Regions from separate parts of the Homo sapiens genome. Here region 1 is linked to region 2. The links are contacts of gene promoters, found by promoter capture Hi-C in blood cells and fetal thymus (Javierre and others, 2016). All regions are on one chromosome and are shown on one strand. Each heading gives the region's core, a stretch centred on a gene start or on the middle of the fragment in contact. The rest is flanking DNA. Distances are from core to core; before and after follow the strand shown. Region 1 overlaps KCNQ5 (potassium voltage-gated channel subfamily Q member 5). Region 2 holds the start of KCNQ5 (potassium voltage-gated channel subfamily Q member 5).

Evidence for each region. Contacts are between HindIII fragments. The CHiCAGO score rates a contact against its expected background, and 5 or more counts as called.
Region 1: a fragment that was not itself captured here is called in contact with the fragment with the promoter of KCNQ5 in region 2 in 1 of 17 cell types (M2 macrophages); the score reaches 5.8 in M2 macrophages.

What each region holds. Positions count from the first base shown.
Region 1 is chr6:72,824,648-72,829,744 of GRCh38, forward strand. All of the region lies in intron 1 of KCNQ5 (potassium voltage-gated channel subfamily Q member 5), which reads left to right. Among named protein-coding and RNA genes, the nearest start is that of MIR4282, 140 kb to the right of the region's middle. RefSeq lists an enhancer at 800-849. The HindIII fragment of the contact is 2,683 bases long and covers 388-3,070 here.
Region 2 is chr6:72,618,511-72,624,095 of GRCh38, forward strand. KCNQ5 (potassium voltage-gated channel subfamily Q member 5) reads left to right here and starts at 3,554. Exons shown (of 14, transcript NM_019842.4): 1 at 3,554-4,077. The coding sequence starts at 3,680. It overlaps KCNQ5-DT (KCNQ5 divergent transcript), which reads right to left and starts at 4,169. Exons shown (of 3, transcript NR_186827.1): 1 at 4,022-4,169. RefSeq lists enhancers at 1,939-2,128, 4,239-5,190 and silencers at 3,549-3,808, 4,839-4,888. The HindIII fragment of the contact is 6,363 bases long and covers 2,510-5,585 here.

The DNA.
Region 1 (5,097 bases), core at 479-2,978, 200 kb after region 2:
AGCTGTGCTGGCCAGCAATGGAGATTTGATAGGGAAGAAAGGTGTCATATCACCTGGATATAGCCAACTAACAGCTTGATATATATGATTCCAAGCCAAAACCTACATTTAGTCTCTCTCTCTTTCTTTCTCTGTCTCTGTGTGTGTGTGTGTGTGTGTCTCTCTCTCTCATCTTTATACTATAGATTATAAAATTTGGATACGTAAATAGTCATCCCACTTATTTCTAACACAATTCTGTGATAATAATGCCTTTTCAGTGTGTAGCTTTCATTGTTTTCAAAGCACCTTTATAGCCCTTCTCTCCTTTGATCTTTACAACAACCCAGAGAAGTGGGCAGGAGAGACAGTAATCTTCCCATTTTGACACATGAAGAAATCTCTTCAAGCTTCACTGTCTTTGAGGACCTCTGGGTAATGATGTCATCTGTCCTGAAACTGCCAGATGACTTTTGCTCTAGAAGAAGGCTAGGGAGAAAAAAACAAAACAAAACAACAACAACAACAAAAAAACGAACATTTAGGCTGGGAGACTGGGCTGTCTTTTCCCCCTTCACCCCTAAAAATCTACTTTGCAAAGAGAGCAACATCCACTCACCATCCCCAACACTTTCTGTTCCCCTTCCCTGATTTCTATTTTTTCCACAGCACTTACTACTTTGGGTTGTGCTGCACTGTATTTCATTTATTTACTTACTGTACTTGTTGTCTGGCTTCCCCACCAGAATGTAAGATCCTTGAAAGTAAGTATTTTTGTTTGTTTTATACATATCTCCCCAGCAACAAGAACAGTGCCACTGGTAGAAGGCATAAGAAAATGCCAGAATGAGTCACTGAGTGCAGACTGGAACTGGGAACAGGAACAGTTAGCTGGTGGTCCACAGGGAAGGTTCTCTCCTTTTCCTTGGTGACAGTGAGAAGTCTTATTTGCAAGAGGAAGAGAGCATGACTTAGAATAACAGTTTGGCTTTAGGTGGGACCTATACTATGCAACATGTGGAACTTGGAGGGCCTTGGAGAAGCTGAGCTTGGGAGCAGGCTCACTTGCCTGGGGAAGGGAAGTCTCTCAGCCCATTCTTTAGCCACCTAGCAATAGTTGTTAGTCAGTCCTGTTTGTCTACCCACACTAGCACATGGGAGGCACTGTATTTGTCAAATGAATGAATGATGAATGAATGAAACCAGTCATTTATATATTGAAGTAAATCAGTGTCATGGAATGTTTTATGTTTAAATGAAGAGAGAAAACTTTAATCAGATTAAATATAGGAAGGATATTTGGGATCTAGAAGGCCAACCCAGTTGTTCAATCACAGTTGCCTCCATGGGGGTCAACCTTAAGCGTTGTGCCTGCAAGCAATCACACTTCTCTGGTGGAAAAGCCATTCTGATTCTGGGGCCCTTTTTCCACCATTTCCCTTCATCCACAGCAAGGAGCTTCAGCTCTGGAGACTGTAATTTGCACAAAGCAATTCAGGGTATAAAAGCAAAACTACACACTTGCAAGGTAAAGATACCAATTCATTCGACTCTAACCATCAAAAGATACATATACACATATATGACATGAGGAATACTTTAGTCACCAGTTACCCTTCCTGCAAGATTAGTCATTAGATCCCATGATAGGCCTTGTTAATGCCATGGAGAGAAAAGAGATAATTATAATGAGTTAAATTTAGAAACAACAGTCATTTTTTGTGGATTAGAAATAGTGAAAGTCAGTGTCTTTCTATCAGTCTTTCACATCAAAAGCTACAGGAAAATCATAAGAAATAATGAATAGAAGAAATATGTACTATTTCTAATTGAAAAATGTCTTTTATTTCAGCTCCCTTGTATGGCTACCTGCTTAAATATATTCATGCTTATGTTTAATGTCTCCTATAGGTTCCTGCTATAATCTTCTTTTTTTTAATTGTTCTTGGGTTTTAAAAAAATGTTTGTTTGACAAATAATAATTATACATTTTCATGTGATAGATAGTGATGTTTCAATCCATATAATGTATAATGATCAGAACAGGGTAATTTGCATATCTATCATCTCTAATATTTATCATTTCCTTGTGTTAGAAACATTCAGTATATTTCTTCTAGCTATTTGAAACAATATAATACATTATTGTTAACTGTAGTCCTTCCACAGTGGTATAAAACATTATAACTGATTCCTCCTATTTAGCCATAATTTTTATATCCTTTGACAAATCTCTCCCTATCCCTCCCTTCCCCCTACCCTCCCAAGCCTCCAGTTTCCTCTGTTCTACTTTATACTTCCAAGAGATCAACTTTTTTTAGCTTCTGCACATGGGTGAGAACATGTGGTGTTTAACTTTATGTTCCTGGCTTATTTCACATAACGTAATGTCCTCCAGTTCCATCTATGTTGCTATGAATGATAGGAATTCATTCTTTTTATGGCTGAATAGTATTCCATTGTGTATGTATGCCACATTTTCTTGATCCATTCATCTGTTGTGGTACACCTCAGTTGATGCTGTATCTTGGCTATTGTGAATAGTGTGGCAATAAACATGGGGGTGCAGAAGTCTTTTTGATACAATGACTTTCTTTCCTTTGGATAAGTTCCCAGTAGTGGCATTGCTGGATTATATAGTCATTCTATTTGTGGTTTTATGAGAAACCTCCATACTGTTCTCTAGAGTGGCTGTACTAGTTTATGTTCCCAACAAGAGGTATAATATACAGTTCCCTTTTCTCCACACCCTCACCACCATTTGTTATTTTTTGTCTTTTTTATAATAGCCATCCTAACTGGGGTAAGAAGATACCACATTGTGGTTTTGATTTGCATTTTCCTGATGATTAGTGATGTCAAGCATTTTTAAATACATTTGTTGGCCATTTGTATATCTTCCTTTTATAAATGTCTGTTCAGATAATTTGACCATTTTTTACTCATATTATTTGGGTTTTTGCTGTTGATATGTTTGAGTTCCTTGTATATTCTAGATATTAATCCCCTATTGAATGAGTAGCTTACAAATATTTTCTTCCATTCTATAAGTTGTCTTTTTGCTCTGTTGATGTTTCCTTTGCTGTGCAGAAGCTTTTTAGTTTTATATAATCCCAGTTGTTTATTTTTGCTTTTGTTTCCTGTGCTTTCGAGGTCTTGATCATAAAATATTTTCCCAGTCCAATGTCCTGAACTGTTTCTCATATGTTTTCTCCTAGTAATTTTATCATTTCAGGTCCTACATTTAGGTCTTTGATCCATTTTGAGTGGATTTTTATATAGGGTAAGAGGTGGAAGTCTAGTTTTATTCTTCTGCATACGGATATCCAGTTTTCCCAGCAGCATTTATTGACAAGACTGTCCTTTCTCAAATGAGTGTTCTAGGAACCTTTATTAAAAATCAGTTGGCTGTAGATATGTGAATTAATTGTTGGGTTCTTTATTCTGTTCCATTCTTCTGTGTGTCTGTTTTTATGTTAGTACTATGCTGTTGTAGTTCCTGCAGGTTTGTAGTATATATTGAGGACTGGTAGTGTGGTACCACCATCTTTGTTCTTTTTGCTCAGGATTGCTTTGGCTACTCAGAGTCCTTTGTGGCTCTATTCAAATTGTAAGTGTTTTTTTCTATTTCTGTGAATAATGTCATTGGTATTTTGATAGGAATTGCATTGAATCTGTAGATTGCATTGGGTAGAATTGTCATTTCAACAATATTAATTCTTCTAATCCATGACCATAGGATCTTTCCATTTGTTTGTATCCTCTTCAATTCCTTTCATTAGTGTTTTGTAGGGTTCCTTATAGAGGACTTTCACCTTCTTGGTTAAATTTATTGCTAGGTATTTTACTTTTTTGTAGCTATTGTAAATGAGATTGCCTTCTTGATTTCTTTTTGTTAGTTCATTCATGTACAGAAATGCTACTCATTTTTGTATATTAATTCTGTATCCTGCAACTTTACTGAATTCGTTTATCAGTACTAAGAGTTTTTTGGTAGAGCCTTTAATTTTTCTTTACATAAGGTCACGTCACCTACAGAGACAATCTGACTTCTTCTTTTCCTCTTTAAAAAAAATCTTTGTACTACCTACCTCTATTTGTCAAAATGACTTTTTCTCCTTTATAATGTGGATGCCTCTTTATTTTGTTTGGTCTAATTGCTCTGGCTAGTACTTCCAGTACTATGTTGAATAAAAGTGGTGAGAGTGGGCAGCCTTCCTATTCTAGTTCTTAGAGGAAAACCTTCAGCTTTTCCCCATTCAGTAAGATGTTAGTTGTGGTGGTCTTTGTTTTAATACAACCTACAAAATAAAATACATTTATGTACATATCTACATATATACACACACATTAAACATAATGTGTATGTATACATATATAGATATATTTATATTTATATAGACCTAAATACATCTGCATAGATATATGACACGTTCATGATAAACCAGTTTGACTGTGGTGTGGCCCACACACCTTTGCTTGCCTGTTTCTCCTCCCACAGTACTGTGGCTCTCCAGAGAGGCTCTCATATATACCCTGCTCCAAGAGCCCCAATATGTGTCCTGTTCTGCAGCAGGACCGCTTATGGAGATGCTCTTCATCAACTAGGTAGTGCTCATTTCTGTATGTTCTTGAAATCTGGAAAACCTCAAGACAGAAAATGAATTTATTTTTAAAGTGGAATTTAATGCAGCAATTAGACAGATGAGAAATATTTTTGGCCCAAGGCATTTTTGTTCACACCTTATAAAGGAGCATTTTTGGTTCTGCTTACAAATGACTTTACCACAGTGTTGAAAGTGTCTCTCTCTCTCCTCTTCTCTTCTCTCTCTCTCCTGCTTAAAAATGACTTTACCATGGTATTAAAGGTCTCTCTCTCTGTCTCTCTCAATTCTTTCATTCATTTATTCAATATATACTTAATATATTCTATGTGCAAGGCACAGTGCGAATAACTCTCGAAGATGTTTTACACTCATAAGACATGTGCCCAAAATGCTACAGCATTAATTTGCCACATGTATTATTTGGACAATTCAGTAGATGCCATAGAGGTTCTAGGAGAAGGAATGTTTCTGGACCAAGGATCAGAATAACATTCAGGGAGGAGGTGGCAAG
Region 2 (5,585 bases), core at 2,304-4,803:
ATTAGCCCAGGAATTTCACAATGGATCAATATGCACCCATATCACTAAAGAGTGGCTACTAAAGAGCGTATCTTGTAGTAGGAGATAGGCGCAAATGAGAAAATGGGTAGGCATGAAGAAGAAGGAAAGTGGGAGAGTGAGTCATTGATGCTTTGTGAAACTCGTCCAGATCCAGTTATTCTGCCCCTCTTATGAGCATTGAAAGTCTTTTTTTTGTGCATCTCTAGCTCATGTATAGAATTTCAAATATTATTATTTCAGAGTACCTTTCAGAAGAATAATACAATGGGATAGAAAACACACTGAGGCCAGGAGCAGTGGCTCACGCCTGTAATCCCAGCACTTTGAGAGGCTGAGGTGGAAGAATTGCTTGAGTTCAGGAGTTGGAGACCAGCCTGGGCAAAACAGCAAGACCCCATCTCCAAAAAAGAAAAAGAAACACACTAAAATAAAATATCTCTAGAAACTATGTTCAGTTGAAACCATATCCATGTAGACTTCAGAAAATGTTTCCAAGGTCATAAATTTCAGGCAAGCATCTTAAGAGAATGAATGAGTAAAAGCAAACACATCTCAAAAGATGGGGAGGGCCAATCAACTCACATACTTTACACTAGCAGTTAACATTTGCCTTTACCTCTTCATAATGCTCTAATGTAATTATAATGCATAGAATATACACTGTTTTACTCACTGCTCAGTATGCCTATCCTCTTTTCTAAATTTGAATTTTAATATTTCAGCAAAACGAACTAATAAAAGGCAGTTTCCTAGCAACGTCTGTATTCAAAGGAACAACAACAAAGCTTAATCGCAAACACCTTATTTTCTCCAAAGTTAATTCCCGTCTTTTGAGGGAAGTTAGCAGGTAGCAAATAAAGCAAGGTGCAAACAGAGGCTCTTGTAGGAGAGGTTGGCACAGACTCACTTGGCTTTTTCTTTCTGGGCATTGAAAGGTAGGAAGGTTAGAACTTCAGCTAAGCCAGTCTTTCCCAATGGTTGCAGTCAGAGATTGATACAAAACCCCAGAACTGTTTGCTATTTTATCCATTCTCTGCTGGAGATGCAGATTGATTGGTGGAAGGAACAGTGAACTAGGAAGCCAGGTTGTTGGATTCCTAGTAACTCTCACACTACCCGCGAAAACTTGAGCAGGCCCTCTTTTTCTGGGCTGTGTATCCAAATGGCGGTTACTCTAGAAGACATAAGTGAAAGGTCCTTCTCAGCAGCTCAAAACGGCTACCAGTAACCGGGTCTTTTTTATTTTTTAATTAAGCTTAAATGGCATTTGCTTAATCAATAATACAGTTTCACTAGAACTAATGCTGCATCCCCAGAAAAGCATCACTTAGAAATTAAACAGCTGGCTGTCTTCCAGGGAAACGTGTCCCTGTGTCCTGCCTTCCTGAGACTTCTTGCCTGCACGCGGGGCCCAGCCGCGCCAGAGAGATGGAAGTGACTTTACCTACCCAGCGAAAGTAGCAGTCTGCAACAAGGAAAACAGCTAAGTTAAGAGGAAGTGGTTTTCATTTTACTGCTTGCAGAAAGGCCAAGATTTTGACGTTTAAAGCGGGCACACGAGTCATTTTAAGTCTCTAGATCTTTCACCCTGAAAGTCCCTGCACAGAAACTCCATAGGGAGTCTAAATATAGCAACAGCACCCCCTCCCGCCCCCTCCGCCTTCAGTCAGGGTCCCGCGCAGCTCTAGGATTGGAGAGCTTACTCCAGGGCGCTCTCTGCATCTGCCTCGAATAGCACCGCACGGAGCAACCTCTCTCGCACCTCCACAGTGCGTGGGTGTGAAGTGTATTAGGGGAAAGCTAGAGAGTGACTCTGGGTGATGGTGCTCGGCTCACAGTCACATGGCGTCGCCGCCAGCTGCACAGAGCTCCCAGCTAGCTTCTGCTGCCCAGAGGCTTGGGGGGAAGGAGGGAGGGAAGCAGGCTCCTGCTGGTGACCAGGAGCAGGCGAGAGGGCTTCACACAAATAATAGTGATAATAAAGAGTAAAAGCAAAGCATTTAAATCGAGCTATTGCAGAAGACAGAAATCAGCTGCCGCGGGCGTGGGTGTGTGTACAGGGTGGGGGAGAATTGGGAAAGTATTTATCTCGGAGGGGCGGAGACAGCTGCAAGAAGACTTTTGTCTTAGCATTGTTTTAGCCTTAGGAAAGGAAAAGGCCCGAAGGAATCCACCTTGCAACTATCTGCTATGTCTTTGTGGTGGAAGCTTAGTTTTGCCTTCAATTTAATTTGATGATTTTCTTTCATATTTGGGGAAGAGCCACTCTGTTGGAAGAAGTCCCCGAGCCTGGCACCCTTCAGTTTTCCCTATGCTGAATGTGAGATTTAAACTGCCTTTTCTTTGTAATACACTGTTTCTGAAGGCCAGAGGCTGCGGCCAGTGGCACCGTGGCCTCTCTCTCCGCCAAGGGCGCATAGGCTTTGGGCCACCCGGGTGCCAGGGGTGGTGGAAGACCCAGTCAGTTGTTCCTTGCAACAGGTCTCTAAGCTTGTATGTTACAACATAAGGTGGGTGGGGTCGGAACCCCGAAAAGCCGGCGTCCTGGACACCCCATCCTCCAGGTGTTCTTTCCCAGACACTGGGTCCTCGCCGCCGCTGCTGAACTTCTCAATCATATGACTTTCTCGGACTTAAATGGAAATTTCTTGACGGAGGGAACTGGGTTTGTTCTCCCAGGCTTCGCGCTGCAGTCAGGCAGAGCCCCGGGGCAGCTCGCTCACCGCGGAGGAGCCACTTTGGAGTTTTACGCCCTTTCCACACCCCACCCATGGACTGGAAAGGATGTTCAGTTACTCGCGAGCTTGTCTGATACTGGGATGGAAAGTCACAGTCCGCAGGCTGGAGTGAGGCGCGGGAAGATGCCTGGTCCTTGCCTCGCGGACTTGGCAGCCGCGTCCTGCGGGTCTGTCCACTGAACTGCTGAGGACTCGCCCGTGTGCGGGGACCCGAGTGCCACTTCCCGGAGCGTTACCTTGCGCTCCAGCCTCCAGGCTAGATAATACCTGGAAGGCAGGGCAGGGCTGTTCCCGCTCTCACCCCTTGCGGAAGGATGGCAGGATCCGGCGCAGCGACGTAGCAGCGGGAGGGCACAGCGACCTGCATCTCCAGTTTCTCCTCAGGACACAAGGCTGACTTCACCTTCCGGACAGCTGCAAAGCCCCTGCCAGAACCAAACCGAACTCGCGCCTCGGAGAGGGGCTTCTGGGGCCGTTTCGCTGCAGGGCGTGGGGAGTGGAGAGAGGGAAGGGGAAGCCTGGGGCTGGGTGTGCGCGCGTGGGAGCGCGCCTCGGAGCGCCCCGCACTCCCCCACTCTATCCCCGGGGGCAGTTTGGGAAGGAGGGAGTGGTAGTCGCGGGAATGAGGGAGCAAGAGAAACCCTCTCAAAGTGACGCCCCAAACAGGTCCGGATTTAGAATTCGAAGCTAAAGGCTGTTAGAAATTGGGACTCCTCGGCCTCCTCTGCAGCCCCTCCTTTCCCGCCCCGAAGCCCGGGCGGTTTGCTGGCTGCCTGCTTCCCCGCCCCCGGCTCAGAGGTCTCTGGCTGGCGGGCGCCCCGTCGGCCGCCGGCTTCCTCCTTGAAACCCGCCGGCGCACATGAGGCCGCTGCCCCCGCCGCAGGCGCTGGCGGCCCCCTCGCGGTGCCCGTGGTGATGCCATGCCCCGCCACCACGCGGGAGGAGAGGAGGGCGGCGCCGCCGGGCTCTGGGTGAAGAGCGGCGCAGCGGCGGCGGCGGCGGGCGGGGGGCGCTTGGGCAGCGGCATGAAGGATGTGGAGTCCGGCCGGGGCAGGGTGCTGCTGAACTCGGCAGCCGCCAGGGGCGACGGCCTGCTACTGCTGGGCACCCGCGCGGCCACGCTCGGTGGCGGCGGCGGTGGCCTGAGGGAGAGCCGCCGGGGCAAGCAGGGGGCCCGGATGAGCCTGCTGGGGAAGCCGCTCTCTTACACGAGTAGCCAGAGCTGCCGGCGCAACGTCAAGTACCGGCGGGTGCAGAACTACCTGTACAACGTGCTGGAGAGACCCCGCGGCTGGGCGTTCATCTACCACGCTTTCGTGTGAGTACCCGCGCCCCCTGCTATGCCCGCTGCAGGGGACCACTGTCCCTGGCCCCCTGGGGCGTGCTCCGCGCTCGCGCCCTTGGGCCCCCGCGCGCGTGCACACGTGGTGGCTTTTATTTCTTCGCACGTGTTCGTGGTCTTCCTTCTGGAGCCTCTCCCCTCCCCCAGCCCCACTTCTCTCATCTCTACAGCTTGAACCTTTTCCCCGAGGACACCCAATGAACTGCCCGGTAGCTTCAGGCTCCCGGGGCGAGAGCCAGGCAGACGCGGGACTTAGGCTGCGCGGATAATTGGGAGCAATTAGGTCCCAAGATACGTAAACTTCAACCGAACGGGGCGCCCGGGAGCTAGGGAATGCAAAGGGAGGACAGGCGCCCGTGTGAGGCTTGAGAGTATACTGGAGAGGTTAGGAGGTGATGGCGGGGTAGGACGGGGAGAAGTGAGGGGGCATCGAGGGCTAGGTCCTCAGTCCTAGGGGCGGAGTAGGGGAAGCTGCTACTTGGAGAGAGCTGCTAGGTTTTAAGCGCGCCCGGAAACACGCCTCGCCACCACCCAGCCACCACCAACGGAAAATCTGTCAGTGCATGTAGCCCTTCCTGCCACGGAGAAGGTGGCCAAGGTCTAGAGGAGGCCAGCAGGCCAGGCGAAGCAACGCTCCCGCGCTGCAGGGGGCGGGGAGGCAGCGGGGAACCTGGGGCGCAGGAACGCGGGCGGAGGTGCGATAGCAGAAGCGCAAATGGGTCGCCTCTGACAGAGATCGGGCAGTGGGTTAAGTCCCCGTTTGTGGCGCGGAGTCAAAGAGTGTGTGTGTGTGTGTGTGTGTGTGTGTGTGTGTGTAGTAAGCCTTCTCCATCTAGCAGAGAATGCTTAATGAGAAAATGATTGGAAGCAAATGTTTATTTTTCCCTTAGGCATTTAAAACCTTTCAGTGGCTTTAAAGTTTACTACTGTTTTTCCCACAAAGTCCATTCATTCAGTCTCCTATTAGAGTTACGTTTATCTGGGCATTTTAAGGTTGTTTTTATAATGTTACCTCGTGTCTAATTCTTTTTTTCTTCCTCTTCTCCTTTTGCTTCCTCTTTTTTTAGTATTATTATTTCTGCTTCTTTTTTGTTAAGATGAAATATAAAGACATCAACCTTAGAAGACCAGTAGAGAAAGTTGCAGATACTCGCTGATACATTCCTTGTTTCCTAGTAAAATAAGTTTTGAGCACACGGACTAGGTTTCTTTTAGAAATAAGTTATGTCATCCATACATAGCTCTCTCCTGGGATGCAGAATTAGCATCAACACCAGAAACGTGTTTTGAAATAACATGGAAGAAGGGCTGGTTTTGTAACTAGGTGAACCTGGAATTCAACCACATAGGAGTCAGGAAATTGGTGGAGTCTACAATCTGTGGGGCTCTGGTGTCTGGAAAATTTTACAGTCCCAGATTGACGTGAACATGTAGCATTAGGCAGAATATTCCAGCCAACTTTCCGTTTTACAATGCACACAAGG